7 separate regions of the Homo sapiens genome follow, and regions 1, 2, 3, 5, 6 and 7 are each linked to region 4. The links are contacts of gene promoters, found by promoter capture Hi-C in human tissues and cell types (Jung and others, 2019). All regions are on one chromosome and are shown on one strand. The core of a region is centred on a gene start or on the middle of the fragment in contact, and the rest is flanking DNA. Distances in the headings are between cores, read along the strand shown. Region 1 holds the start of GAA (alpha glucosidase). Region 2 holds the start of TBC1D16 (TBC1 domain family member 16). Region 3 overlaps RPTOR (regulatory associated protein of MTOR complex 1). Region 4 holds the start of ENDOV (endonuclease V). Region 5 overlaps CCDC40 (coiled-coil domain 40 molecular ruler complex subunit). Region 6 overlaps RPTOR (regulatory associated protein of MTOR complex 1). Region 7 overlaps RPTOR (regulatory associated protein of MTOR complex 1).

The links. The method cuts DNA at HindIII sites, captures the fragments that hold promoters and counts their contacts. A contact is called where the count stands out against the background at its distance.
Region 1: a contact is called between the fragment with the promoter of GAA here and the fragment with the promoter of ENDOV in region 4, in 2 of the 25 tissues and cell types used here (adrenal gland and mesenchymal stem cells).
Region 2: a contact is called between the fragment with the promoter of TBC1D16 here and the fragment with the promoter of ENDOV in region 4, in 1 of the 25 tissues and cell types used here (adrenal gland).
Region 3: a fragment that was not itself captured here is called in contact with the fragment with the promoter of ENDOV in region 4 in 2 of the 25 tissues and cell types used here (dorsolateral prefrontal cortex and lymphoblastoid cells).
Region 5: a fragment that was not itself captured here is called in contact with the fragment with the promoter of ENDOV in region 4 in 4 of the 25 tissues and cell types used here (adrenal gland, dorsolateral prefrontal cortex, hippocampus and 1 more).
Region 6: a contact is called between a fragment that was not itself captured here and the fragment with the promoter of ENDOV in region 4, in 1 of the 25 tissues and cell types used here (dorsolateral prefrontal cortex).
Region 7: a contact is called between a fragment that was not itself captured here and the fragment with the promoter of ENDOV in region 4, in 2 of the 25 tissues and cell types used here (IMR-90 fibroblasts and lymphoblastoid cells).

Annotation. Positions count from the first base shown.
Region 1 is chr17:80,099,810-80,102,830 of GRCh38, forward strand. GAA (alpha glucosidase) reads left to right here and starts at 1,772. Exons shown (of 20, transcript NM_000152.5): 1 at 1,772-2,081. CCDC40 (coiled-coil domain 40 molecular ruler complex subunit) reads left to right here. Exons shown (of 20, transcript NM_017950.4): 20 at 1-804. RefSeq lists a silencer at 1,319-1,938 and an enhancer at 2,269-2,378. The HindIII fragment of the contact is 18,678 bases long and covers 1-3,021 here.
Region 2 is chr17:80,034,551-80,038,256 of GRCh38, forward strand. It overlaps TBC1D16 (TBC1 domain family member 16), which reads right to left and starts at 1,322. Exons shown (of 12, transcript NM_019020.4): 1 at 1,245-1,322. It overlaps CCDC40 (coiled-coil domain 40 molecular ruler complex subunit), which reads left to right and starts at 2,092. Exons shown (of 20, transcript NM_017950.4): 1 at 2,092-2,141; 2 at 3,573-3,636. The coding sequence starts at 2,113. RefSeq lists a silencer at 1,321-1,390 and enhancers at 1,581-1,700, 2,600-2,894. The HindIII fragment of the contact is 13,824 bases long and covers 1-3,706 here.
Region 3 is chr17:80,836,113-80,839,865 of GRCh38, forward strand. It overlaps RPTOR (regulatory associated protein of MTOR complex 1), which reads left to right. Exons shown (of 34, transcript NM_020761.3): 10 at 1,810-1,885. Among named protein-coding and RNA genes, the nearest start is that of CHMP6, 150 kb to the right of the region's middle. The HindIII fragment of the contact is 7,748 bases long and covers 1-3,753 here.
Region 4 is chr17:80,413,218-80,417,195 of GRCh38, forward strand. ENDOV (endonuclease V) reads left to right here and starts at 1,950. Exons shown (of 10, transcript NM_173627.5): 1 at 1,950-2,033; 2 at 2,433-2,604. The coding sequence starts at 1,978. It overlaps RNF213-AS1 (RNF213 antisense RNA 1), which reads right to left and starts at 1,951. Exons shown (of 2, transcript NR_029376.1): 1 at 1,712-1,951. RefSeq lists an enhancer at 2,383-2,472. The HindIII fragment of the contact is 5,195 bases long and covers 492-3,978 here.
Region 5 is chr17:80,071,567-80,075,237 of GRCh38, forward strand. The region is part of intron 10 of CCDC40 (coiled-coil domain 40 molecular ruler complex subunit); the gene reads left to right. Among named protein-coding and RNA genes, the nearest start is that of MIR1268B, 25 kb to the right of the region's middle. The HindIII fragment of the contact is 9,664 bases long and covers 1-3,671 here.
Region 6 is chr17:80,747,269-80,751,413 of GRCh38, forward strand. All of the region lies in intron 5 of RPTOR (regulatory associated protein of MTOR complex 1), which reads left to right. Among named protein-coding and RNA genes, the nearest start is that of RPTOR, 200 kb to the left of the region's middle. RefSeq lists enhancers at 1,023-1,524, 1,525-2,024. The HindIII fragment of the contact is 4,968 bases long and covers 30-4,145 here.
Region 7 is chr17:80,698,968-80,702,877 of GRCh38, forward strand. The region is part of intron 3 of RPTOR (regulatory associated protein of MTOR complex 1); the gene reads left to right. Among named protein-coding and RNA genes, the nearest start is that of RPTOR, 160 kb to the left of the region's middle. The HindIII fragment of the contact is 8,995 bases long and covers 1-3,910 here.

The DNA.
Region 1 (3,021 bases), core at 522-3,021, 310 kb before region 4:
GGAAGAGATCCGGAATTGTGTTTGTCATGAGGGACTTGGAATCTTTTGTGTTCCTAAAAACCACATGTACCCTCAGAAGGGCATCGTTTAAGAGAAATAAGCCAGCCCCACCCATAGGAATCTTTTTAGCCACTCAGCAATTTAATAAACCAGGTAAAATCCTAGCGTTTCCCATGGCATCCCATCGCAAAGACAGAGCCTGTGACTGCAGACCCACACACCCACACTCCCACACTGGGCTTACTCGTCCAGGTAACACTTTGGTTTGCAGCACTCCCAAATCTGCACGTGCCTCTCACAACACAACGCTGCCACAGGTCCACAAGCTGGTGGGCTGAGCAGAGGTGGGAAAGTTAAGGCAGCTCCAGCCAGCCTGGCCCGGGAGGCTGGTCCCCCCAGCACTTCCCTCTACTAGGTGCATCTGAAAACCCACAAACCACCTTCTTTACCAGTTTTCCCATCCCCACCCCTTAGAACTCTCAGGTCCCTTTTCCTGCCCCCATGTCCCCATTTGAGTTAAATTCAGATCCACAGCTTGCAGGAGAAAGTCAGTGGCCCCAGACACACGTAACAGGGTGAGCACTGAAATAAGAGCACGCTGGGGCGTCCACACCAAGGGACTACGCCCCAGTCTGCCCACCTATCTTTTCTCCATCATTAACCCAGCGCTCTTTCTCCCTGGACTTCCAAGTACCAATGACCTTGGGGCTTCTTTGCAGTTTAAAGGGAAAATGCTCTACAAAATAATTTCACTTTCAAACATTTCAGCAGAAGAATAAAATCTTTTTTCTGAATATCTAGTAAGCCTTTCTGAGTCAGCCTTACTTATTTTAAAACATTGTAGAAATACAGAAACCACAACAGAGGTGGAAGGGAGGCTTTTGTTTTTTTTTTTTTGAGACGGAGTCTCGCTCTGTCGCCCAGGCTGGAGTGCAGTGGCGCGGTCTCGGCTCGCTGCAAGCTGGAAAGGGGGCTTTTAATGCCCCTATGCCCCTACCCAGGAACAACACCTCTGTGTTTTGGTGTGGCTCCTTTTGTATTTTTCTGCACATACATTTTATTAGGCAAGTTAAGGTTATACTGTGTGTTTTTTGTATCTCACATGTAAAAATGTGCTCCTCTTAATGTAAGCATTTTCTCATTTTATGAAAAAATTCCCCCTGTGTCAGTTTAATGTTTTCTCAATTGTCAGTTTTATGGGTTATCACAATGTTTTGATTATTCCTTTCTGGAATAACTGTGAGTTATGGAGCACACTTAAGGACTTTCCAAATGTTGGCTGTTTCTAACTTGGCGCTGAGCGCCTTTGGCCGCCTTTCCGATGATGCCCTCGGGACGCGTTGGCAGGAGGAATCCCTGGGCGCAAGGCGCGGCTGGGCCAGCCCCTTACAAAGCCCTACGAGCTGCGGGGACCCAGGCCGGGGCAGCGGGGGCCACGCCCCATCTCCGACCCCACGGGGACCGGGCCGGGACTGCGCCAGCGGGGGCCTCGCCCCGTCTCTGACCCCAGAGGAACCGGCAGCGGGCAGCACGCGTGGGCCTCTCCCCGCGGGACGCCGGACGCGCAGCCAGACGCGCTCCCCAGGCCCCCTCCGAGAGCGAGGACGCGCCCAGGCCCGCTCTGCCGGAGCCGCCACTGGGGGGCGTAGCGCGGACGCGCACCCTTGCCTCGGGCGCCTGCGCGGGAGGCCGCGTCACGTGACCCACCGCGGCCCCGCCCCGCGACGAGCTCCCGCCGGTCACGTGACCCGCCTCTGCGCGCCCCCGGGCACGACCCCGGAGTCTCCGCGGGCGGCCAGGGCGCGCGTGCGCGGAGGTGAGCCGGGCCGGGGCTGCGGGGCTTCCCTGAGCGCGGGCCGGGTCGGTGGGGCGGTCGGCTGCCCGCGCGGCCTCTCAGTTGGGAAAGCTGAGGTTGTCGCCGGGGCCGCGGGTGGAGGTCGGGGATGAGGCAGCAGGTAGGACAGTGACCTCGGTGACGCGAAGGACCCCGGCCACCTCTAGGTTCTCCTCGTCCGCCCGTTGTTCAGCGAGGGAGGCTCTGCGCGTGCCGCAGCTGACGGGGAAACTGAGGCACGGAGCGGGTGAGACACCTGACGTCTGCCCCGCGCTGCCGGCGGTAACATCCCAGAAGCGGGTTTGAACGTGCCTAGCCGTGCCCCCAGCCTCTTCCCCTGAGCGGAGCTTGAGCCCCAGACCTCTAGTCCTCCCGGTCTTTATCTGAGTTCAGCTTAGAGATGAACGGGGAGCCGCCCTCCTGTGCTGGGCTTGGGGCTGGAGGCTGCATCTTCCCGTTTCTAGGGTTTCCTTTCCCCTTTTGATCGACGCAGTGCTCAGTCCTGGCCGGGACCCGAGCCACCTCTCCTGCTCCTGCAGGACGCACATGGCTGGGTCTGAATCCCTGGGGTGAGGAGCACCGTGGCCTGAGAGGGGGCCCCTGGGCCAGCTCTGAAATCTGAATGTCTCAATCACAAAGACCCCCTTAGGCCAGGCCAGGGGTGACTGTCTCTGGTCTTTGTCCCTGGTTGCTGGCACATAGCACCCGAAACCCTTGGAAACCGAGTGATGAGAGAGCCTTTTGCTCATGAGGTGACTGATGACCGGGGACACCAGGTGGCTTCAGGATGGAAGCAGATGGCCAGAAAGACCAAGGCCTGATGACGGGTTGGGATGGAAAAGGGGTGAGGGGCTGGAGATTGAGTGAATCACCAGTGGCTTAGTCAACCATGCCTGCACAATGGAACCCCGTAAGAAACCACAGGGATCAGAGGGCTTCCCGCCGGGTTGTGGAACACACCAAGGCACTGGAGGGTGGTGCGAGCAGAGAGCACAGCATCACTGCCCCCACCTCACACCAGGCCCTACGCATCTCTTCCATACGGCTGTCTGAGTTTTATCCTTTGTAATAAACCAGCAACTGTAAGAAACGCACTTTCCTGAGTTCTGTGACCCTGAAGAGGGAGTCCTGGGAACCTCTGAATTTATAACTAGTTGATCGAAAGTACAAGTGACAACCTGGGATTT
Region 2 (3,706 bases), core at 72-2,571, 380 kb before region 4:
ACATGCCACTTACAAAAAAATATGCGCACAATAACCACGCTCAGGATGCAAACAACATCCATTAATGAACTTTGTAGTTAATACCAAAAGTTACTCCTCACTTTATTCTTTATTTACAAAAGCTTTCATGGTTCTTAAAAGTGTTTAGTATTCACCAATTTTACTGTTAGCGTTTCTAATGAGGATTTTCTAAAACTGAGGCATGGATTTGAAAAAGTGTTCTGATCAATCAGTAACAGATTTGGAATGGAATCTCCAGCCCCCAGTCTTTGCGCCCACCCTCTGGCAATATGCCGCCTCACGTGAGCATCTTTAAGACGGAGTTCCCTTTTTATTCCAGATAAAAGAATTAGGAGCCTTCTGGTAGAAAAGAAAGCAGATCTTCAGGATCAAGTCGCAGAGGCTGGCCAATCAGCCCAGCTTCTCATTTGAACTTGACCCAGACAGTAAAACAAACTTTACCATAAGGCGAGACTAACTTTTGTTATGTCTTTTCTATTCATTTCCTATTTCTGAATCAAATCTGAACTACTTTGTGGCCAATATACGACACCAGCTTCCGAGTGTGGGAATCACAGGATTTCAGGATTCAGCGGCTTCCGGCAGGATCCCCTAGGTTATGTTTAGCAATCTTCAGTTGCCTTTCCTTTTTTTCTTTCCTTCCTTTCGTTCTTTCTTTCTTTTTCTTTTTTTTTTTTTCCCAAAGGAAAGAACAAGGGAGCCCAGGCGGAACGGAAGTGAGTATCCCGACACGCGGATCTTAAACAGCCCAGACCACCAAGCCCGACAGGCCGGGAAAGCTGAGCGCGCGCTGCTGGGGGGACGCACACTTTGGAGGCTGTGTGGGCGCGCGCCGGCACCCCACAAGTTCTCATCCGTCTGCTCCGCCGATTCAGCCAGACAAAGACCGCAAGTTCCCCGGTCCACCGCTCCAGACAGGCGGGGACCAGTCTCCCCGAATTAGGCCCATTCCGGGCCCGGGCGCCCTCACTCGCCGCGGGGAAAAGTCCCCAGGTGCCCCTCCGTGATCCAGGTCCTCCCACAACGCTCCCGCTCCTGCTGGCGCCCCGCACCCCGAGGACGGCGGCCGGACCCCGGCCCCTCCCCGGTCCCGCGGCTGCAGGCCCACGCGCCCCACGCGCCCCGCGCGCCCCCGCCCCAGCTCCGCCGAGGGGGCGCTGCTCGCTGCGCGGTGGACCCCTCGGACCCCGCCCCCGCGGCCCCGTCCGGGCCCCGATACCCACCCGGGTCCCGCTGCGGGGGCCGGATTCGCGCCGGCTCCGAGAGCCGCCACCGTCGCCTCCGCCGCTGCCGCCGCCAGTGAGGCGCGGCGGGGCGGGGACGCGCGGGGAGGCCCGGCCCCCGGCCCGCCCCCGGGCCCGCCCCCGGCCCGGCCCCTGCCTGCCCCCGCCGGTCTCCCCGCCCACCTTCTGGCCCAGCCCTGGGCCCAAGCCTCTAGTTCCCTGCTGGCCCTCCCTCAGGCCTCGCCGCGTCCCGGCCTCGGGGACTGTGCCCCGTCCCGAGCCTGGCGTCCCCAAAGGAAAGGCAGGGCTCCTCGGACGCTCCGCGTGCGCGCTGGCCCTCCGCTGCCGCCCTCTGCAGGGAGATTTCTCCTATTTCGGACTAGGAAGGGAAGATACGCTCCGGAAGACCCCCCGGGCGTCCATGCAAGGAGTCTCCGTAGGACCCCTGGAGAAGGGCACCGGAGCCCCCTAGGGCAGGAGATGGAAAAGCGCTCGCCATGCGCGGGGTCCCCGGCCCCCGGTGCCCCCAGCCCGCCTGCCATTCCCGGGCGCTTAGCAGTCCGGGGTCCCCAGGTGCCCGGCAGGTCCCTTCGGGACCTCGAGCCGCCCGCTGGGCACACGCTGACGCCGCTGTCGCTTTACAGAAATTGAGCGCAGCCGAGGCGGGACCCGGGCGCAGAGAGCGATAAAGGAAAAGCATGGTCGTGCTCTAATCATTACAGTCTAAGGGACGACACGTCGAGACGGCGCGCGCCTCTGCGTGCGTGGAGATGGCACAAAGGCCGCGCCGCCCCCGGCGGCCCCCGCCCTCGCAGCGCGCGTGGTCCCGGCCCGGCCGGATGTTGACAGCGTCGCCTAGCAACGGGAAATGGCGGAACCGGGCGGCGCGGCGGGCCGGTAAGCCGGGCCGAGGGGCAGCGGGTCTTGGAGTCGCCAGGCCGCGCTCTCCGTTCACCGCTCCAGGTGGCCCCCGCGTCGGCTCCTGCCTCGCCCCTTCGCCTCCACTCCCCCTTCCTCTCGCCTGTGTCCCTTCTCTCGCCATTTTGCTGGCCTTTCCCGTCCACTGCGTTCAGCCCCTCACCCCCCCGCCAACCCTTCTCACTTCTCCCCTCCTGTCCCTTTGTCCTCTCTCGGCCTCCCTCTTTCCCCTACTCCAAGCGCGCGACTCCCTCTAAAACCCGGGACCGCTCACTCTGCAGTCACCATGGCAACCACTCTGCGTGGCGGTCCCTGCGCGCAGTCCTCCTAAGAGTAGAGGGCTCTGCAGGGCGCGGGGCTGTTGGATACCGCCCCTGACCTTGCTCCGGGGCCACTCGCTGTGGCCGGAGACCAGCCCGGCCCCGCGCCTCCCTCCTGCAAGGACAGATCCCCTCTCGCAGGCTTGGGGGTGACCCGCGATGGGAGGGGTCCCTGCGGTTAGGCGGCCCGCGATAGTCCGCGGTCACCGTCCTGGGGCCTGGGTGGAAGCACTGAGCGCGCACAGGGAGGGCGGCTGAGTGAAGATCCCTGCCACCGGGCCTCTGCTCGCTTAGGCTCTGTTTAAAAGGATAGAAACGATTGGAAAGAGTTTGGCCTTTTTACCTTAGACACATCGGTATTGTTTCATTTTTTTAAAGGTGGGTCTGTATGTATTGACATGGAAAGACTAAAGGTATTATTAATAAAACGATAGGCATAAATGTAAAAGGGTAGGTATACTATGATCTCTAATTCAGGGTGTGTGTGTGTGTTTAAAACATAGAAAAATGTTGAAAGAATGTGGTCCTAAATGTTATCAATGATTATCTTGGGAAGGAAAGGGAAGATCACAGGGAACTGTCACTGTCTGTCTCTTTGAACATATCTATATTCCTTTGACAGATAAAAATAGCTTGAATCTTTAATTTTTTAAAAAAGATATACATATATATATATATATATATATATTCCTGTGCTACGTAAATCGTGGAGAAACTCAGAGTCCCCAGAACACTTACTCTGATCGCGCTACTTTCTCTACGTTGTATTTCTTTTCCCCAGTTTTGTCCCAGACACAAGTTATATTTGAGGTGACTTTTCTGGGGTGATCTAATCCTGCTGTTCCTTCGATGTTTTAATAATTATATTTTTCATTCATTCATGGAGCTTTGCTTTTGTGGCATCTCCGCCACCTGACAGGCATGATATAGTGCTATGGTTCCTGACAAACAGGACAAAGACGTGACAACAGCCTGGGGGTGGCAGAGAAGTAACAAGTAAATAAACAGATGTGCAGAATTCAGGAGGGGATAAGGACCAAGAAAAAGAAAGCTGTTGCTTGAAACTGTTCAATTGTTTCTCTAAAACCAGGTCCCATCCGGAAGATGGATCGGCTTCTGAGGGAGAGAAGGAAGGGAATAATGAAAGCCACATGGTAAAATTCCCTATGGGCAGTTATTCCGGGCTTATATTTACTAGGAATTAAAGAGAATCAGAGTACGGGC
Region 3 (3,753 bases), core at 153-2,652, 420 kb after region 4:
GCAGCCTCCCACACGGGCTCCCTGGTCAGGCCCTCATCCTCCGGGCGAGGCAGCGAGGCAGGCAGGTCAGCCGCTCCCTGGGCCGGAGCTAGTGGGTAGCAGAGCTGGGAGCAGAGCCCAGGCTCATGGCTCCCGGTCAGATCTTTTCTTCCCTCTCTCCTTCTCGAAAGTCACACGGGGCTGCTCATGCACAGAGGGTGCTTTCCTGCTCGCCCTCACTCTCATTTAGCCAATGCATATTGAAAGCCTGCTATGTGCCTGGCACTGGGAAAGAAGTTGGGTACGGCTGGATGCCAGGGCACCTGCAGGATGTCTGTAATTCAGCGTGTGGCTCTGCGGCCTTGGGCGCGTGGCTGTCTCTCTAGGGTGAAACAGTCTCATGATCATGTCTCCCTCACAGTGTCCTTGTAGAGCAGCTGACACAAAGCAGGGGTCGGTCAGAGGCAGCTGCTGTCCCTCTGCCACAGGGCTAGAGATGTCAGAGGTGCTGGGGTGTGCCAGGCCTGGGGTACCACGAGAAGGCCAGAGCCACAGAAAGGCTTAGGGGGGCTGTGTTAGAGCCTCCGAGAAAGCTCACAGGGCAGCTGGCCTGGAGGGAGGTGCCGGCAGAGGGGCCCATTGGGAGGGGGCTGTTAGGACAACACCGAGGCTCTGACAAGGCCATGTCAGGAAAGTGGCGATGGTGGCTGGGGGTGCCCCATAAGGCTGTTGCCTACACCTGGGAATCCCAGGAACTGGCCTGGAGGTGTGAGGTCCAATTCAGACTGCCGGCTGTTCCTACAGTAGAATTGGGGTGTGGAGCTCTGGGGAGAGGTGTGAGGCTATTTTAAATAGCGTCTGGGGGTGTCGGTGAGCAGGTGGCATTGGGCGCCCTGAGCAAGGATGAGAGCAGGCAGGGAAAGGGCTGTGGAAGCTGCAGCAGTGCGGCCCTGAAGGACGGGGTCGGGAGCCCGGGGAGGAGGCTGTCTCACGTTCACCGTGACGGGAAGGAGGCCGGAGGAGAAAGCCTCATAATGTCCAAGGGGGAGAACTCAAGAGGGACAGTGTGGTCGGTTACTGTGACAAGGGGTCTCGACAGGGGAAGCACATCACCGGGGTCATCTGTGGAGCCACTGTGGCTTGGGGGGAGCAGCTCTATGCATGGTAGGAGACCCCAGACTGCAGGGTGCCTGGTGAGACCCACAGGGAGGCAGCAGGAACTGACTGAGCAGGTGGCTGTCCACACCAGGGAGCAGCAGGGGGGAGGCAAGGGAGGGACAGGGAGGGGCCTGACGGCACCATCACAGCGCAGAGCTCAGCCCTGACCGCCAGGACTCCTTTCCCTGACTGCATGCCGACCCCTCCTGATGAGGCACTTTGGGCCTGGCCCTGGTGTCTCTCCCGCGTCCCTCCAGGACGCTGCCCCATCAGAGCCTGCGCAGGGACCACAGCTGCTTAGAACACGTGGGCTGCCAGTACATGGGTTCAAGTCACAGTCAGAAGCCACAGCAGAAAATGGGAAGCATTCCTTTATTTTTCCAGGCTTTTTTTCTTATTTTATTTTAAAGAGAAAAAATGTGACAAAATGGTGAGGATGCTGGCAGCGCCAGCGTTCCCGGCCTGCACTCTCTCCTGGCCTCCCCTCGGACGTCTTCTGCAGCCCAAATCTGAACAGCAGTGAAACCGTAAACATGCCCCCCACCAGCTGCCGTGGCCTCCGCCCAGACCCTTGCTGCCCAGGCTCAGCCGGCTCCTCCTGTGCCCTGTGAAGTGGCCTCGTGTGGAAGCCCGTCCATAATGCTCAGTGGATTTCCTCTGTTCTCTCCGCAGGCAAGCCTGGGACCTGGCTGTTGACATCTGTCTGTCTCAGCTGCCGACGATCATCGAGGAAGGCACTGCGTTTCGGGTGAGTCCCTCCAAGGGCACCCTGTGCATCCGCGGCGGCAGCCACTTCTCTGGGCACCTGGACTGCAAAGCCCCCAGACTGGGGGTGGTGCCCAGGACTCTCGGGTGTCAGATTTTGTTCACCTGCCTGGAAAAAATGTAGTTGCCAGAGTTTAAAACATCGAGTCAACCAGGGTTTAAAGTTAAACTTTGAAAGAATCAACTTTTAAAACAGTCCTATCTCAAAATTTTGCTATTACAGATCTACTTTTCTTAATGCGGACTCACTCCCTGTGAGTGGTGATCCTGTTACACTTTCTAGCCTTTTCACCACAGACGCGTTGTGGATCTCCCCCAGGCCTCTGACTCTCAGCCCTGTGGGACAGTGACCCACGGGGGGTTTGGTGCTGAACCCTGGAGGGCGTTCTGCCCCCGGCCGCACTGCACGGGCGCTGGAGAGCTGAGCCACCCTACGGCGGAACCTGGGTTTAGTCGCCGCACCTGCAAGTGAGGGTGGCCCCGGGCCTTCGCGGCAGCTCCCTAGGACCCCCTCGTGGTTTCTTAATGAGCTTTTGCCTTACGTGAGGCGCCAAGTCTGAAAATAGATAAATAAGACGGAGGCCCTGCCCTCCAGAAACCCGTGAGGAAAGAGGAGCCTCTCACATCTGTGCAGAATGCAAGGGAGCAATCGGCAAGAGGGCGCGGCAGACACGGGGAGGCCAGGGATGGGGGAGGCGGCAGCCTGGGCAGAGGCAGGAGGGGACCAGCATCCCCGCCTCCCGTTGGGGCCACACCTGAGACACCACCGTGTCAGGCTCCAGAGCCACAGAGCCTAGCTTTGCCACCGAGGGCAAGTTTGGTCGTCTCCTCATTTAAGGGAGGGATTATGGTGGTATCCAACCCCAGGGGTGCTGGAAGGACAAAGGGAGTTAATGTAAGAAAAGTGCTTTGGACAGAGCCCAGCACAGGGCCCTTGGGAATTCATGTGCAGGCACTGCCCCAGAGCCAGCTGTCACTGATGTGAGGATGCCACCCTCCAGCCCAGGGCAGGGGCACCGATGGTCAGGAAGGTTCCGTCCACTGCACAGACTTTTAACTTTCAGTGCACACCACAGCCGTCAGGGAAGCTTTTAACACATGCAGTCGGGAGCCTGGGTGTGCCTGCGTGCGTGCGTGTGTACGCGTGAGTGGGTGTGCATGAGGTGTGTGTGATGTGCCTGTGTGGGGTGTTTTAACTCCTCAGATGATTTTGACATGTCCCACGGGTGGGATGACTGGGAAAACGGCCTTTTAAGAGGGCTTTCTTTTTTATAATCTTCTGTTACCCTCCCATTATTGCTTGATTTTTTTGGTAACATTTGATTGTGAAAATTTTCAAACCTACAGCAAAGTTGGAAGAAATTTACAGTGAGCACCCCATGCCCACCACTTACTTCTACCCCATCTTTGTATTCATGGGGTATTTTCAAGGGCATTGCAGACCGCCCCGCATTTTACACCGTGAGGCGGAAGCCAGCTCCCCGTCATGTGCTTGGCATCAACACTGGGCTTCTAGACAAAGGCCTTCCCTCCCTTCCTGCTGGACCACAAACCTTGGGGGGCAATGACAGGGTCTCCTGCAGAGTGGCAAACCTTCACAGACGCCAGCTGTCCACCCTCAGCCTGCCAGAGCTGCTTTCAGAGTGCCTGCGCTTTTCCGAAGAGCTCTGGGCCTGTTGCCGCAAACAGATATTTGGAAACCTTCGGGAAACTGGCCTTTCTGTACTCTGAGCGTGGCTTCACTCGGTACTTTTAAGAGATCAGAATAATCTGCTCTTATATAAAATAATGCAGTTTCTATTTGCATGTGTGCTCTTTCTAAACGAATACTTAGGTTTCTGTGCCAGGTAT
Region 4 (3,978 bases), core at 700-3,199:
ATGCTATCTATAGATTACAGACGTTATATAGAAAAGCACCGTGAAAATCCCTGTCCTGTTCTGTTCCGTTCTAATTACGGGTGCATGCAGCCCCCAGTCACGTACCCCCTGCTTGCTCAATCAATCACGACCCTCTCACGCAGACCCCTGAAGAGTTGTGAGCCCTTAAAAGGGACAGGAATTGCTCACTCGGGGAGCTCGGTTGTTGGAGACGTGAGTCTTGCCGAAGCTCCCAGCTGAATAAAGCCCTTCTTTAACTCGGTGTCTGAGGGGTTTTGTCTGCGGCTTGTCCTGCTACACTCTGGTGGGAAAGACACCGCAGCAGGGGAGCAGGGTGCGCAGGGTGCAGTGGGTGACGCTCATTCGCTGAAAACTGACCCTGCTTTCAAAGCCTTGTCAGTTCCCAAAGCTGTATGAAGCCTTTCCTGAGCCTCAACCTCTAGAGTCTAATTTCATCCTCTGTATTTTCCCCTTTGTTAGTCCAAACTGCGTCATTTTGTAAGCCCCTTTCCATTTTGTAGACCTTGGTCAAAGTGAAACATTCCACGGGGGTTCGAGCCATGAGAAACAGCCTGCCTCTTAACATATTCTGCTGGGACAAAGCGCCAGGAACACCACATTCTGCCGGAACCACCTCATCCTGGGAACACGTTAACATCTTCCCGGACAGCAAGCCATACTGCCTAGATCCCTCCTGCCCAGGCCTATGAGTACCCCAGCCTGTAATCGCTGGTGGGCTCTGGCATTAAGCTGGCCCCCGACAGGTGTTTGCAATACACCTGTGTTGCTGTAGAGCCGCCCGCGCGCCGGCAATCTCACTGTGCGTCATTCTTTAACCTTCACCTTCCCTTCAAAACCTAACACCCTTGACGTTTATATTCAGGCTATTATATATACATACACACATACACCCTTCTGAATCCTCCCAGGAGAATATAAAACCATGGGTTAAACTGCTACACTTCAGCTTCAGTGGCTGCCTTTCAGTGCTTCAAATACACCAACCTCTTTCCCACCCCGGGACCTGCACGAGAAAGCTGCTCCACTCACCCGCCGTGCTCTTTCACTCACCCTTCAGGTGTCTTCAATATCGCCTCTCAGGCCTTTCCCAACCACCGGTTTAAAGTCGGCTCCCCACAAATAAATACATATTCTCCCTCACAGTACTTCGCACAACACCTGGCACAGCGAGAGCACTGAACCAACACTCATTCAATGAGGAACACGAGGTAAGAACCAAGACCCCCCAAGGTCGCCGTACTTTGTCTGGTAGGAGAAGCTTTCTGCCCAGCAAGGTCCGACCCAGATGAAACCCCGTCCAAGTCTGCAGCACCCCCGTGAGTCCAGCCCGCTAAACTGTGAAGAATTTAAATACACGACACCTGCCCTCAAAAGCTTGAGGGCACCCCTGAGCTGCCATCGAGGTGGGGGCGTCAACGACAGGCGCTCAGTAAGTGCTCCTGAGGCAACTGCCGGGCTGTCCTGGACCTGGTGAATCCTTTCGGGGTTCAGCAAAGGCGGACGCTGACCGGGCCAAGGAGTGGGACCTGCAGTGCTGGACCACCCTTTTCCAAGCGCAGAAGTGCCGTGCCCGCCGGCTCTCAACAGGGCAAGAGGCCCCTCTCGCCGTGCAGAGCGCAGCGCTTGCGGCGGGGACAGCAGAGGCGGGACGGGCGTCACGGAGTTCCCGGGTCCTCGCGCGGTCACTTACCTGGCCTCAGCTATCCGCTGAAAAAGGGGCGGACGGCCTCCCGGGATCCGAGCCGATATCGCGCGCGGCGCCGCGGGGCAACCTGAAGCCGTGTGCGTGCGTGTGCGTTCACGCAGGGGCTCACCCAGCGGCCACGGGCTTCTGAAGACCCGGGTGGGAAGTGCGGCCCGGGAAAGCGCAAGCGTCTCCATGGCAACGAGGGCGGACGGCGTCAGAGCGAGTCGCTTCCGGAAGTGACGTGCGGAAGGGGTGCCCGGGACGAAGCCATGGCCCTGGAGGCGGCGGGAGGGCCGCCGGAGGAAACGCTGTCACTGTGGAAACGGTAATGCTGTCAGGCGACGCGCAGGAGGCGGGGGCCGAGGCCGGGCGGCCCTTCGCGGACCCTCCGAGCTCATAGTCTTCAGGCTGTGGAATCGGAGCTGCCACCGCCCGAGACTCCAAAGCAAAGCCCAGTTTCCGGCGCGGAAGCGGAGGGATCTCAGGAATTGTAGTCCGCGGGGTGGGCGCGGTTCTCGCTTCCGGCCAGTTTGTCTGGCCTGCGCTTGCGCGGGTCTCCGCCGCCTGGGCTCCTAGGGACTGTGGCCTCGGCGGTATGTCCCTTGCTTTCCCTTGAAGCGGGAGAAGACCCGGCAGAGGCGCTCTGTCCGCTGCAGCCGCGCGGGTGGAGGAGGCAGAGTCTGAGGTGTGACCCCGACCAAGTTTGACGCTTCTGTCCTCCTAGGGAGCAAGCTCGGCTGAAGGCCCACGTCGTAGACCGGGACACCGAGGCGTGGCAGCGAGACCCCGCCTTCTCGGGTCTGCAGAGGGTCGGGGGCGTTGACGTGTCCTTCGTGAAAGGGGACAGTGTCCGCGCTTGTGCTTCCCTGGTGGTGCTCAGCTTCCCTGAGCTCGAGGTAACCTGGGAGGACGCCGAGCTCGAGGCGGGCCCCTCGGTGGGCTCGGGCGTGCGGTCTCCGGGACAGGGAGCAGTGCAAGCGTAGAACCCGGCTTCTCGTTTTGTAGGATGTCATTAATAGTCTGGGGAGTTGGCCGGGCGCGGTGGCTCACGCCTGCAATCCCAGCACTTTGGGAGGCTGAGGCGGGGGAATCACCTGAGGTCGGGAGTTCGAGACCAGCCTGACCAACATGGAGAAACCCGGTCTCTACTAAAAATACAAAATTAGACGGGTGTGGTGGCATATACCTGTAATCCCAGCTACTCGGAAGGCTGAGGCGGGAGAATCGCTTGAACCCGGGAGGCGGAGGTTGCGGTGAGCCAACATCACGCCATTGCACTCCAGCCTCGGCAACAAGAGCGAAACTCCATCTCAAAAAAAAAAAAAAAAAAAAAAAGTCTGGGGAGTCTTGGAAGGGAAAAAAAGGCAAAAATTAAGGGAATTCTGTGACTATTAAGAATCAGCTCATGAGCTTTATCTTCAAGTCTGATTGTTATCTTGGGTTCTTCATCTCAGTGACCTGTCCACCACGCTCCCAGTTGCCCAAGCTGGAGATCTGCATCCTCCTGGGCCCCTCCGTTCCTCTCGCGTCCAGTTGCACACTAGCTCGCTTTTATTCTGCCTCTTAAATGTCGCTGGAATCTGTCCCCTTGTCTGTTTCCCCTCTGCTCCTTCCCTGGCTGTGCCACCATCACTCCTGTGGGTTCCTGAGCAGCATTTTCATGGGTGCCCTGGCTCAAATGTTCCTCCTCAGTGGTTTCTTTTCCATACTGCCAGCAGACCAATTTTCCTAAAAAGCAAGTATTTTCCTCAAAAGCAACAAGTCCCCTCCCTCCCTCCCTCCCTCCCTTCCTTCCTTCCTTCCTTCCTCCCTTCCTTCCTCTCTCTGTCTCTCTTTCCTTCCTTTCCCCTTCCCCCACTCTGTGCCCAGGCTGAAGTGCAGTGGCATAATCTTGGCTCACTGTCAAGATCTGATCTCAACCTCCTGGACTCAAGTGATCCTCCCACCTTAGCCTGAGTAGCTAGGACCACAGGTGTGAGCCACTACACCCGGCTTATTTTTTTATTTTTTGTAGAGACAGGATCTCACTATGTTGCCCAGGGTGGTCTCCAGCTCCTGGGCTCAAGGGATCCTCCTACCTTGGCCTCCCCAAGTGCTGAGATTACAGGTGGGAACCACCACACCCAGCCCACAAGTCCTCTTAGAACATTGAAGTGCCCTTCTCATGACCTCATGGTGAATAAAGTTCACTCTGGTTGGCATGGCTTCAAGGCCCGTCATGACCTGTCCCCTGCGTAATTTAATATGACGCTGGAGGCTCAGCCCTCACC
Region 5 (3,671 bases), core at 1,024-3,523, 340 kb before region 4:
GATTTTTGGACTTTACCATGGTATTAAAGCAACAGGCAGGCAACAGAAACTGGGCTTTGAGTCCCACACAACCTCCCTGGTTTTCAGCACGGTATTCAATAAATTACATGGATGCCCCACACTTTATTATCAAACAGGCTTCGTGTGAGATGATTTTGCCCACCTGTAGGCTCATGGGAGTGTCCTGAGCACGTTTGAGGGAGGCTGGGCTGAGCCGGGGTGCCTGGCAGGAAATCTGCAGGAAGTGCATTTTGGGTTTTTCAGCTTTTTTTTTTTTTTTTTTTTTTGAGATGAAGTTTCACTCTTGTCGCCCAGGCTGGAGTGCAATGGTGCGATCTCAGCTCACTGCAACCTCCACCTCCTGGGTTCAAGTGATTCTCCTGCCTCAGCCTCTCAGGTAGCTGGGATTACAGACATGCACCACCACCATGCCCGGCTGATTTTGTATTTTTAAAAGAGACGGGGTTTCACCATGTTGGCCAGGCTGGTCTTGAACTCCTGGCCTCAGGTGATCTGCCCCCACTTGGCCTCTGAAAGTGCTGGGAATTACAGGCGTGAGCCACGGCACCAGCCTGCATTTTGGACTTAGGATATTTTCAACTTACGATGGGTTTGCCGGGCTGCATCCCCACCGTAAGCTGAGGAGAACCTGTACTTTCTATTGGTGCCTGCTGATCTACGGAGTTTTTAAAGTACGATTTAAAAAAATAATAATCCTTATCAAGGATAAGTGATTGCGTTACAGGACATTTGAAAAACAGAGAAAAGGATTTAAAAATACCATCGACTTTCTCTTTTTGTGACAAGAAGACTCATTAGCATGTCAGCACACTCTCAGGCACACATTTCCCCGAGTGTTAGGAGTTCTGTTGCACAGTTTGTAACTGTATCTTTTTAAATTGGGCATCTTATTTTTATTGTCAAATTTAGACATTTATAAGGCTGCTCCTTCCTAAAAAAAGAAAATGAGTAACTTATTTACTTGAAGTCAGGATGACTGGGGATAATTTATGTACAAAATTGCATACCTCCAGCCCTGGCAACCGCTGTGCCGCCTTCTGTGCCTATAGCTCTGCCATTTCTAGAATGTCATATAAATGGAATCGCGCAGTCTGTAGCTTTTCTTGTCTGGCTTCTTCCACTTGGCATCATGCTTTTGAGACCCACCCATGTTGCAAGATCAGTAGTCTGTTCCTTTTTATTGTTGAATAGTATTCCCTTGCACGGATACATCAGATGTATTTGTCCATCCACCAACTGATGGACATTTGGCTTTTACCTTTGGAATACCGTGAAGAAAGCTGCTGTGGCTGTCCTGAAAAGATCTTTGCATGGAGACGTGTTTCCGTTTCTCCCGGGTAAATACAGGCGCATCTCGTTTCAGTGTGCCTCGCTTTCTCCTACTGCGTGGAATCGCTTTTGTTTGTTTGTTTGTTTGTTTGTTTGTTTGTTTTTGAGATGAGTTTCACTCTGTCACCCAGGCTGGAGTGCAGTGGGGCGATCTTGGCTCACTGCAACCTCCACCTCCCGGGTTCAAGCAATTCTCCTGCTTCAGCCTCCAGAGTAGCTGGGATTACAGGCACATGCCACCATGCCCTGCTAATTTTTTGTATTTTTTAGTAGAGACGGGGTTTCACTGTGTTAGCCAGGATGATCTCGATCTCCTGACCTCATGATCCACCCGCCTCAGCCTCCCAAAGTGCTGGGATTACAGGAATCGCATTTTTTACAAATTGAAGGTTGACGGCAGCTCCGTGTGGAGCAAGTCCACCGGCACCATCTCTCCAGCGGTGCGTGCTCACTTCCTGCCTCTGCACCACATGTTGGTCGTTCTCATAATATTTCAAACTTTTTCATTGTCATCGTCCGTTATGGTGATCTGTGATGAGTGACCTTTGATGTTAACTATTGTAATTGGTTTTTGGCAAAGCCACGAACTGCCCTTGTTTAAGACAGCAAACTGAATCAAGACATGTCGTGTGTGTACTGACTGCTCGCCGGCTGGCGTTCTTCCATTTCTGTCCCTCTCCTTGGGCCTCCCTATTCTCCAAGACTCAACAGTATTGAAATTAGGCCTACAATGGCCACTAAGTGCTCAAGTGAAAGGAAGAGTCTCATGCCTCTCACTTTATTTTTATTTTATTTATTTATTTTTGAGACACTCTGTCCCCCAGGCTGGAGGGCAGTGGCACGATCTTGGCTCATTGCAACCTCTACCTCCCGGGTTCAAGCGATTCTCCTGCCCCAGCCTCCCGAGTGGCTGAGATTGCAGGTGCCTGCCACCGTGCCCGGCTAATTTTTGTATGTTAGTAGAGACAGGGTTTCACCATGTTGGTCTCGAACTCCTGACGTCAAATGATCTGCCTGCCTCGGCCTCCCAAAGTGCCGGGATTACAAGTGTGAGCCAACGCTCCTGGCCGCCTCTCACTTTAAATCAAAAGTTAGAAATGATTAAGCTTCATGAGGAAGGCATGTCAAAAGCTGAGATAAGCCAAAAGCTAGGCCTCTTGCACCAAAGGGATAGCCAAGTTGTGAACACAAAGGAAAAGTTTTTGAAGAAAATTTAAAGTGCTGCTCTAATGAACACACAAAAGAAAGGGAAGCAGCCTAATTGCGCGTCTGGAGAAAGTTCAGGTGGTATGGACAGAAGATCAAACCTTCCGGCCGGGCGCGGTGGCTCACGCCTGTAATCCCAGCACTTTGGAAGGCCCAGGCAGGCGGATCACGAGGTCAGGAGATCAAGACCATCCTGGCTAACACGGTGAAACCCCGTCTCTACTAAAAATACAAAAAGTTATCCAGGCATGGCGGCAGGTGCTGAGGCAGGAGAATCACTTGAACCCAGGAGGCGGAGGTTGCAGTGAGCCGAGATCGCGCCACTGCACTCCAGCCTGGGCAACAGAGCGAGACTCTGTCTCAAAAAAGAGAATGCACCTGGTGGGCATGCTAGCTCAAGTAATCTCAGCACTTTGGGAGGGCAAGGTGAGAGAATTGCTTGAGGCCAGGAGTTCTAGACCAGCCTGGGCAACATAGCAAGAGCCTGTCTCTAAAACCGAAAAAAGGAAAGAAAGAAAATGTACCTGGTCACCCAAGAGTTTTGATGGAGCTGGAGCTGTGCAAGATGAATGTTGTTTCCACACCTGTAACACAGCATTTATTCTGCAACCCATGGGTTGAGGAGTAATTTCAACTTTCAAGTCTTACTATTGCAGTAATACAGTCTGTAAAGCTATAGCTGTCATAGATAGTGATTACTCTGATGGATCTGAGCAAAGTAAGTTGAAAACCTTCTGGAACAGACTCACCATTCTAGATAACGTTAAGGATATTCGTGATTCATGAGAGGAGGTCAAAATATTACTCTTGGTTTTTTTGAGGTGGAGTCTTGCTCTGTTGCCCGGGCTGGAGTGCTATGGTACGATCTTGGCTCACTGCAGCCTCTGCCTCCCGGATTCCAGTAATTCTCTTGCCTCAGACTTCTGAGTAGCTAGGATTACAGGTCCTTACCACCACACCTGGCTAATTTTTTATATTTTTAGTAGAGATGGGGTTTCAACCGTGTTGGCCAGGCTGGTCTTGAACTCCTAACCTCAAGTGATATGCTCACCTCAGCCTCCCAAAGTGCTGGGATTACAGGCATGAGCCACCTCAGCCTCCCAAAGTGCTGGGAT
Region 6 (4,145 bases), core at 1,264-3,763, 330 kb after region 4:
AAGAGCTCTCCTGTGTACTCGTCCATGCACCCAGTAGTGTGGTGGGAAAGAAGGAATTCAGCATGCTTCCTCCTGGGCCTGGCAGACAGGTACCAGGTGAGTGGAGCACTGTCATTGCCTGTCACTTGCTGTTGGAACCTCTGCAGCCAGAGGGCATGTCTTCTTGTCTATACATCAACGTACTTTGGGGGGCTTCTTAAATAGGTGGGGTTTCTGTCAATGATCACACTGAATGGGGAAATGAAGTTTCTAGTAGGCATATTTGGGATAAAGCTCTTTCTACATCTACCTGTCCGACTGCTCCCTCGGCAACCACAGAATGCTTCCAGTGTCCAGTGTGCTCCAGGAGGCATTGGGCCAAGCGCCCGTGCATCTCAGGGTGCAGGCTGAGATAGGCACGGCAGATGCAAACCCAGCAGCGTCTGGACCACGGGAGCTTTGTCTCTCCACCGGACAAGACACAGACTTCTTGGTCCCTAAGGAAGTCCCCTTCAAACCTGCTGAGTTCTCATGTGGCTCCTGTACACTGGAGACTCGCCCCACCACCCCATGCCATCCTATGTTCTAGTGCTGACTTGGAAGAAAGGTGGGTTGGTATGAAAAGTGTTAGATTTCAGAAGCTTGGCACAAATGGTTGGCAGCGATGGAGGGACTGCAGTGTTTAGAGGCCATGGTGGGAGGACCTGTTGGATGGAGGGACTGCAGTGTTTGGAGGCCGTGGCGGGAGGACCTGTTGGGTGGATGGAGGGACTGCGGTGTGTGTTTAGAGGCCGTGGCGGGAGGACCTGTTGGGTGGATGGAGGGACTGCGGTGTGTGTTTAGAGGCCGTGGCGGGAGGACCTGTTGGGTGGATGGAGGGACTGCGGTGTGTGTTTAGAGGCCGTGGCGTGAGGACCTGTTGGGTGGATGGAGGGGCTGCGGTGTGTGTTTGGAGGCCGTGGCGGGAGGGCCTGTTGGGTGGATGGAGGGGCTGCGGTGTGTGTTTGGAGGCCGTGGCGGGAGGGCCTGTTGGGTGGATGGGGGGGCTGCGGTGTGTGTTTGGAGGCCGTGGCGGGAGGGCCTGTTGGGTGGATGGGGGGGCTGCGGTGTGTGTTTGGAGGCCGTGGCGGGAGGGCCTGTTGGGTGGATGGGGGGGCTGCGGTGTGTGTTTGGAGGCCGTGGCGGGAGGGCCTGTTGGGTGGATGGGGGGGCTGCGGTGTGTGTTTGGAAGCCTTGGCGGGAGGGCCTGTTGGATGGAGGGACTGCGGTGTGTGTTTAGAGGCCATGGCGGGAGGACCTGTTGGGTGGATGGAGGGGCTGCGGTGTGTGTTTGGAGGCCGTGGCGGGAGGACCTGTTGGATGGAGGGACTGTGGTGTGTGTTTAGAGGCCGTGGCGAGAGGACCTGTTGGGTGGATGGAGGGACTGCGGTGTGTGTTTAGAGGCTGTGGCGGGAGGACCTGTTGGGTGGATGGAGGGGCTGCGGTGTGTGTTTGGAGGCCGTGGCGGGAGGACCTGTTGGGTGGATGGAGGGGCTGCGGTGTGTGTTTAGAGGCCGTGGCGGGAGGACCTGTTGGGTGGATGGAGGGGCTGCGGTGTGTGTTTGGAGGCCGTGGCGGGAGGACCTGTTGGGTGGATGGAGGGGCTGCGGTGTGTGTTTGGAGGCCGTGGCGGGAGGGCCTGTTGGGTGGATGGAGGGGCTGCGGTGTGTGTTTGGAGGCCGTGGCGGGAGGGCCTGTTGGGTGGATGGAGGGGCTGCGGTGTGTGTTTGGAGGCCGTGGCGGGAGGACCTGTTGGATGGAGGGACTGCGGTGTGTGTTTAGAGGCCGTGGCAAGAGGACCTGTTGGGTGGATGGAGGGGCTGCGGTGTGTGTTTGGAGGCCGTGGCGGGAGGGCCTGTTGGGTGGATGGAGGGGCTGCGGTGTGTGTTTGGAGGCCGTGGCGGGAGGACCTGTTGGATGGAGGGACTGCGGTGTGAGTTTAGAGGCCGTGGCAGGAGGACCTGTTGGGTGGATGGAGGGGCTGCGGTGTGTGTTTGGAGGCTGTGGCGGGAGGGCCTGTTGGGTGGATGGAGGGGCTGCGGTGTGTGTTTGGAGGCCGTGGCGGGAGGACCTGTTGGATGGAGGGACTGCGGTGTGTGTTTAGACGCCGTGGCGGGAGGACCTGTTGGGTGGATGGAGGGGCTGCGGGGTGTGTTTAGAGGCCGTGGCGGGAGGACCTGTTGGGTGGATGGAGGGGCTGCGGTGTGTGTTTGGAGGCCGTGGCGGGAGGACCTGTTGGGTGGATGGAGGGGCTGCGGTGTGTGTTTGGAGGCTGTGGCGGGAGGACCTGTTGGGTGGATGGAGGGGCTGCGGTGTGTGTTTGGAGGCTGTGGCGGGAGAGCCTGCTGCTCAGTTCTCAGGACTGGTTAGAAAGTAAATTTAACGTAGGAGCAACTTAACAAAAAGAAAAGCTTTTCATTTTGGGGGCTTTTTTTGTTTGTCTTTAGAGATGGCTTTGCTCTGTCACCCAGGCTGGAGTGCAGTGGTGCCACCACAGCTCACTGCCACCTTGAACTCCTGAGCCCAAGGGATCCTCCCACCTCGGCCTCCTGAGTAGCTGGGACTGCAGGCATGCACCACTACACCAGGCTGATTTTAAACAACTTTTTGTAGAGACAGGGGTCTTGCCATATTGCCCAGGCTGGTCTCAAACTCCAGAGCTCAAGCAATCCTCACACCTCAGCCTCTTGAGAAGCCAGGACTACAGGCATGCACCACCACACCTGGCTAATTAAAAAAAAATTTTGGAGTGATGGGGTCTTTCCATCTTGCCCAGGCTGATCTTGAACTCCTGGGTTCAAGTGATCCTCCCACCTCAGCCTCCCAAAGTGCTGGTATTACAGATGTGAGCCACCACACCTGGTTATATAAAAAGAAAACCTAAAACTAGTAAACCACACTGATATTTTTTGCTATATTTCTGCTATATACATGTCCTTTTGAAAAGGAAAATAGGAATATTGAACTTAGTTTTTGCGTAAAGGGCCATTTCCTCCCACTTAAAGTTGTTTCCTTTTTAATCCTCTGCCAGCCATTCTTACGTGGCCAGTGGTAGTGGTGCTGATTAAAATAACACAAGTCTGCCAGCAGTCCCAGACAGACATCGCAAATGGCGCCTTCCACAGTTCAGGACTGTGTGCTTCACTCCACGGAGGTCTGCCTCAGATGCCTCCCTCCCAGCCCCTTTCCGGAGGCCAGGGAGAGTGCGTTTCCACCAAGCGCAGGAGTCAGCACTTCCTCATAGCCTTCCCGTGCCCTCCCAGCACCAGGCACACATGGCCGCTCCCACCTATCCCATCCACCTGTTGTGACGCGGGTCTGAGTAGCTGCAGGTCCACGTCGTTCCTGGACCCATCATCTGGCTTAGTGGGCCTGTCACAGCAGACCTGGAAACTAATTTTCTGTGTACAGCAGGTTGCATTGCCGATGCTATTTTAGCTTATGGAGCCCAGAGCCCAGGAAATGGTTTTAAACATGATTTTGCCTTCCCTCTTCCCTCTTGTTTAAAAAAACCCACTCCTTGGTGGTTCTTGGTGATTGTTGCGTGGCATGTAAATATCCCTAATGTCACCGAACTGTACATTTGAAACAGTTAACATGGCAAATTTTATGCTACAGGTAATTTATCATCATAAAAAAAACCTCATTCCTCTAGAAATTGCAGTTTTTATTGAAAAAGTTAAATTATATTTATTATTAAGTATATGAGAATTTGATTTGTACTCTGGGTTTAATGTTCCTGTGGTAGAATGGGTTATTAATAAAACTAGCAGTCATTAGTACCTTCCAGCTGAGAAATTTGAGATGTTAAAAACAAAGTTTGTCAGAGTCAGATGACAGTGCGTTCTGTACCATCACCGTGGTGCGAGGTGGCTGTGAGTGAATACAGCTCTGTGTGTATTTCATTCCGAAAGCACTGGGCGTGCTGTCTGGAGAGGGCTCGGCAGCTTTCGTGTTGGCGTCGTAGGTGCTTGGTGGAGATTCAGAAGGACCCAGATGGGATAATGGGGCAAAAGCAGCCCTAAAATCAGGGGCAGTGCCCGGCACTCTGGACGCATGTGCTGGCCCAGCTGCAGGGCAGTCCGTGTCATCTTTGGGGACTCTGTGTCCTCGTCGTCACAGCTCTT
Region 7 (3,910 bases), core at 1,392-3,891, 290 kb after region 4:
GTGATTCCCCCAGCATCTGCCTCGAGCTTATGTGCATGGAGCAGCAGATCCCTTTGTCTGGGCAGTTAGATTGTCTGCTAAGGAAAGTGGGTGTTGGAGCAAAAGCCTTGCTTCACTGCTGTACTCCAACCCATCAAAATGGAATTGTTTAAAATGCCCTCAAAATAAAAATAGAGACCCCAAGCTCTTGATAAAACAGCTTTCTCTGGAGAAGCTCATCGGGCTGTGTAAACTCCAATAGGAAGTATTTATTCATCATTTGTATGTGCACAAATATTTATTTAATGTCAACTGTGAAGGCTGATGAGTAAATCAGCAGGTAGAGTCCAGTACCCTGGTGCAGTGATGGGGAGCTAGAGGTGCTGTGCACAGTACCCTGGTGCAGTGATGGGGAGCTAGAGGTGCTATGCACAGTACCCTGGTGCAGTGATGGGGAGCTAGAGGTGCTATGCACAGTGCCCTGGTGCAGTGATGGGGAGCAAGAGGTGCTATGCACGGTACCCTGGTGCAGTGATGGGGAGCTAGAGGTGCTGTGCACGGTACCCTGGTGCAGTGATGGGGAGCTAGAGGTGCTGTGCACGGTGCCCTGGTGCAGTGATGGGGAGCTAGAGGTGCTGTGCACAGTACCCTGGTGCAGTGATGGGGAGCTAGAGGTGCTGTGCACGGTACCCTGGTGCAGTGATGGGGAGCTAGAGGTGCTGTGCACGGTGCCCTGGTGCAGTGATGGGGAGCTAGAGGTGCTGTGCACGGTGCCCTGGTGCAGTGATGGGGAGCTAGAGGTGCTGTGCACGGTGCCCTGGTGCAGTGATGGGGAGCAAGAGGTGCTGTGCACGGTACCCTGGTGCAGTGATGGGGAGCTAGAGGTGCTGTGCACGGTACCCTGGTACAGTGATGGGGAGCTAGAGGTGCTACGCACAGTACCCTGGTGCAGTGATGGGGAGCTAGAGGTGCTATGCAGCCTTTGGCATGGCTTCCTATCCAGTGTCTGGAAGAGCATCCAAGAAGGATGCTTTCAACATGATAAAAGACAAGGGACATTTAACATGATACTTGAAGAATGAATAGAAAATGACCAGGCAAGACTTGGAATAGGACATGGAGAAAAGGTAGGAAGAAGGTTCTGGGCAGAAGGCTGGAAAGTAGGTTAGAACATAATGAGGCAAAAGGCTTAAAAGATCCTTTCTTGTGGCTGAAGTGTAGACTCTCAGAGATTATGTCTAGTGATCAGGCTGGAGATCTTGCAGGGACTCGTAGGTCTTTCTAAAGAGTTTTCAAAGTTAGTGGGAAGACATCAAAGGTTTCTAAGCGGGAGAAGGACCTATTGAGTTTTGGAGAATGGATTTGGAGTGAAACAAGGCTGGAGGATAAGTTGGGAAGTTACTCCAATGATCTAAGAAATAGATAAGTGGTGGTGGTGATGGTGGTAGTGGTGGTGATGGTGGTGGTGGTGATGGTGATGGTGGTGGTTATGATGGTGGTGGTGGTGATGGTGGTGGTGGTGGTGGTGGTGATGATGGTGGTGGTGATGGTAGAGATGATGGTGATGGTGATGGTGGTGGTGGTGGTGGTGATGATGATGGTGGTGGTGATGGTAGAGATGATGGTGATGGTGATGATGGAAGTGGTGGTGATGGTGATGATGGTGATGGTGGTGGTGGTGGCGGCGATGATGGTGGTGGTGATGGTAGAGATGATGGTGATGGTGATGATGGAGGTGGTGGTGATGGTGATGGTGGTGGTGATGGTGGTGGTGGTGGTGGTGATGATGGTGGTGGTGGTGGTGGTGATGATGGTGATGGTGATGGTAGAGATGATGATGGTGGTGGTGGTGATGATGATGGTGGTGATGGTGATGGTGGTGGTGGTGGTGATGGTAGAGATGATGGTGGTGGTAGTGGTGGTTTGGTAGTGGCTTGACCTGGGTATTGATAGCACGGATAGAAAGAGGTGGATGGACTCAGTCAGGATTGAAGAGGTAGACTCAACAGGATGCAATGATTGATGACATAAAAATGGAAAGGGTGAAAGACAAGAAGGTGTCAAGGGTGATTCTTGGGTTTCTGTTGTCCAGCTGGGTGATTCTCAGGTTTCTGTTGTCCAAATGGTTAGTGACCCCATCCATATGGATTGAGGAGAGAGGGGAGCAAGCTTAGGAGGGAAGACACAGAAGATGTGCACTGGACAATTCCTCTCTGCTGAAAGGCCTCAGACACACTGATGGATTGCTTCACATCTGGGAACAAATGCTGTGAAGTCTCTGTGTCCTCAGCGGCTCCACCTGGTTGCACTAGGGTGGAATCATGGGAAAGGGCACAGGTTATATATTCTTGCCATTTATTCTCACGGAGACCATAATGCTCATTCCATATCAACCGAAAGGTAGCATTTGCCATCACTCTTTTTGGCTTTTGTTTTGTTTCTCTGTATTTTACTTGTTTTTCATCCTAACACCCTTAAGGGTGAGGGTAAACAAGGGCTATAGGAGGCGAGGCCTTCCAGGGAAATGCCGGGCAGGGAAGAAGGTCAGGTCCGCCTAAAGGTCCCTCCTACCAACATTTCCCTGGAAATCTTTGCATCCTACTTGAGAAGGAGAGGGGTAGGGTGAAACTTTCACTAGACCCCAGATGGGGCCAGAACTGGCCTGAGTCCTGAAATGACATTTGTTCCTCCAGGACAGTTCTGAGAGTGTTGCAGGCATTTCGGTTTGTTGGATCTAAACTTGACCTGCTATTCATTGCTATAGGATGGGAGGATGGCAGCGATATCACTTGTACTCACAGACCCAGCCTAGTACGACGCCAGTGTCTTTGTTAGAAACTCTACAGATGTCTATGTCCAGCCTGCCCCAGCGGCACAGGGCTACCCCTGGTGGGATTTTGTCAAAGGGGAAGACCCACCAAGTAGAGCCCCTGAGCCCCTCCTCTTCCCAGGTGGCCGTCTCTCCTTGATCCACACCAGCGGCAGTTTGTGCAGCTTCACCAGAGCTTCTAGCGGGACCATGCCGCCACGAGGGCCACTGGGAGCAGAGTCCCTCCCATGCTCAGGGCTCTCCAGGGTCTGAAGTCTGCACTTGTATGAGAAGGAGCTCCAATACCAATAAAAGTCTACGTGGAAAATGCAGAATCTGATTGCAGTAGCATTTCTTAGGCCTTATTAGCATATAAATTTACCAGGTGTCATTTTAGGACAAGAGCCCGTCACTGAGAAGGAAATGAAATTTGGAGCTGCATTTTCCTTCATTAAACCAAGGGCCCATTTTTGTTTTGTTTTGTTTTTTGTTTTGTTTTCTTTTCTTCGGTTATTCATTCTTTTATTATCTTCTGCTGTCACATCCTCCAAAACTCCTGTGCATATATTTTCTTGCACCTTGAGATTTGGCATTTCAGGAAAAATGCCTAGCACAATAGGCTGTAGTTTAGAGACTTGCTTTGTCATTTTATATGTCCAGCAGAAATTGTCGTAACTCCCCCGGATGATCAGATGCTCCCGTGCCTCTCCTGTCTCTCAGACCACACAGCTATTATCCCTGGCATTCTAGTTGTGAGACAAAACCTTAACACAATGTGGTGACATTTAATTTAGTGTTTCTCATTTCAAAGCCCTTAAAAATATTAATTAATTCCCATGAAGCCCCAGGAGGCGTATTATTAATATCTGTGGCGCCTTTCATGCTAGTCCATTAATGTGCCTTCTCTACGCAATAGGTAAGAAAATGAAGCTAAATCCGTTTTTCGCAGCCCCATGGGATAAGACCTTCACAGAGCCAGGGTCAGAAATGATGAATCCTTAATTTTATTGGTGTCCCTGAATAATCTACCCCGTGGCCTTCTGTGTGGCGTGGAAGAACAGCACTCCTGTTCAGGAGCAATCTCAGGAGACAGCGAATGATTTTCCTGTGGAGCTGTGACTT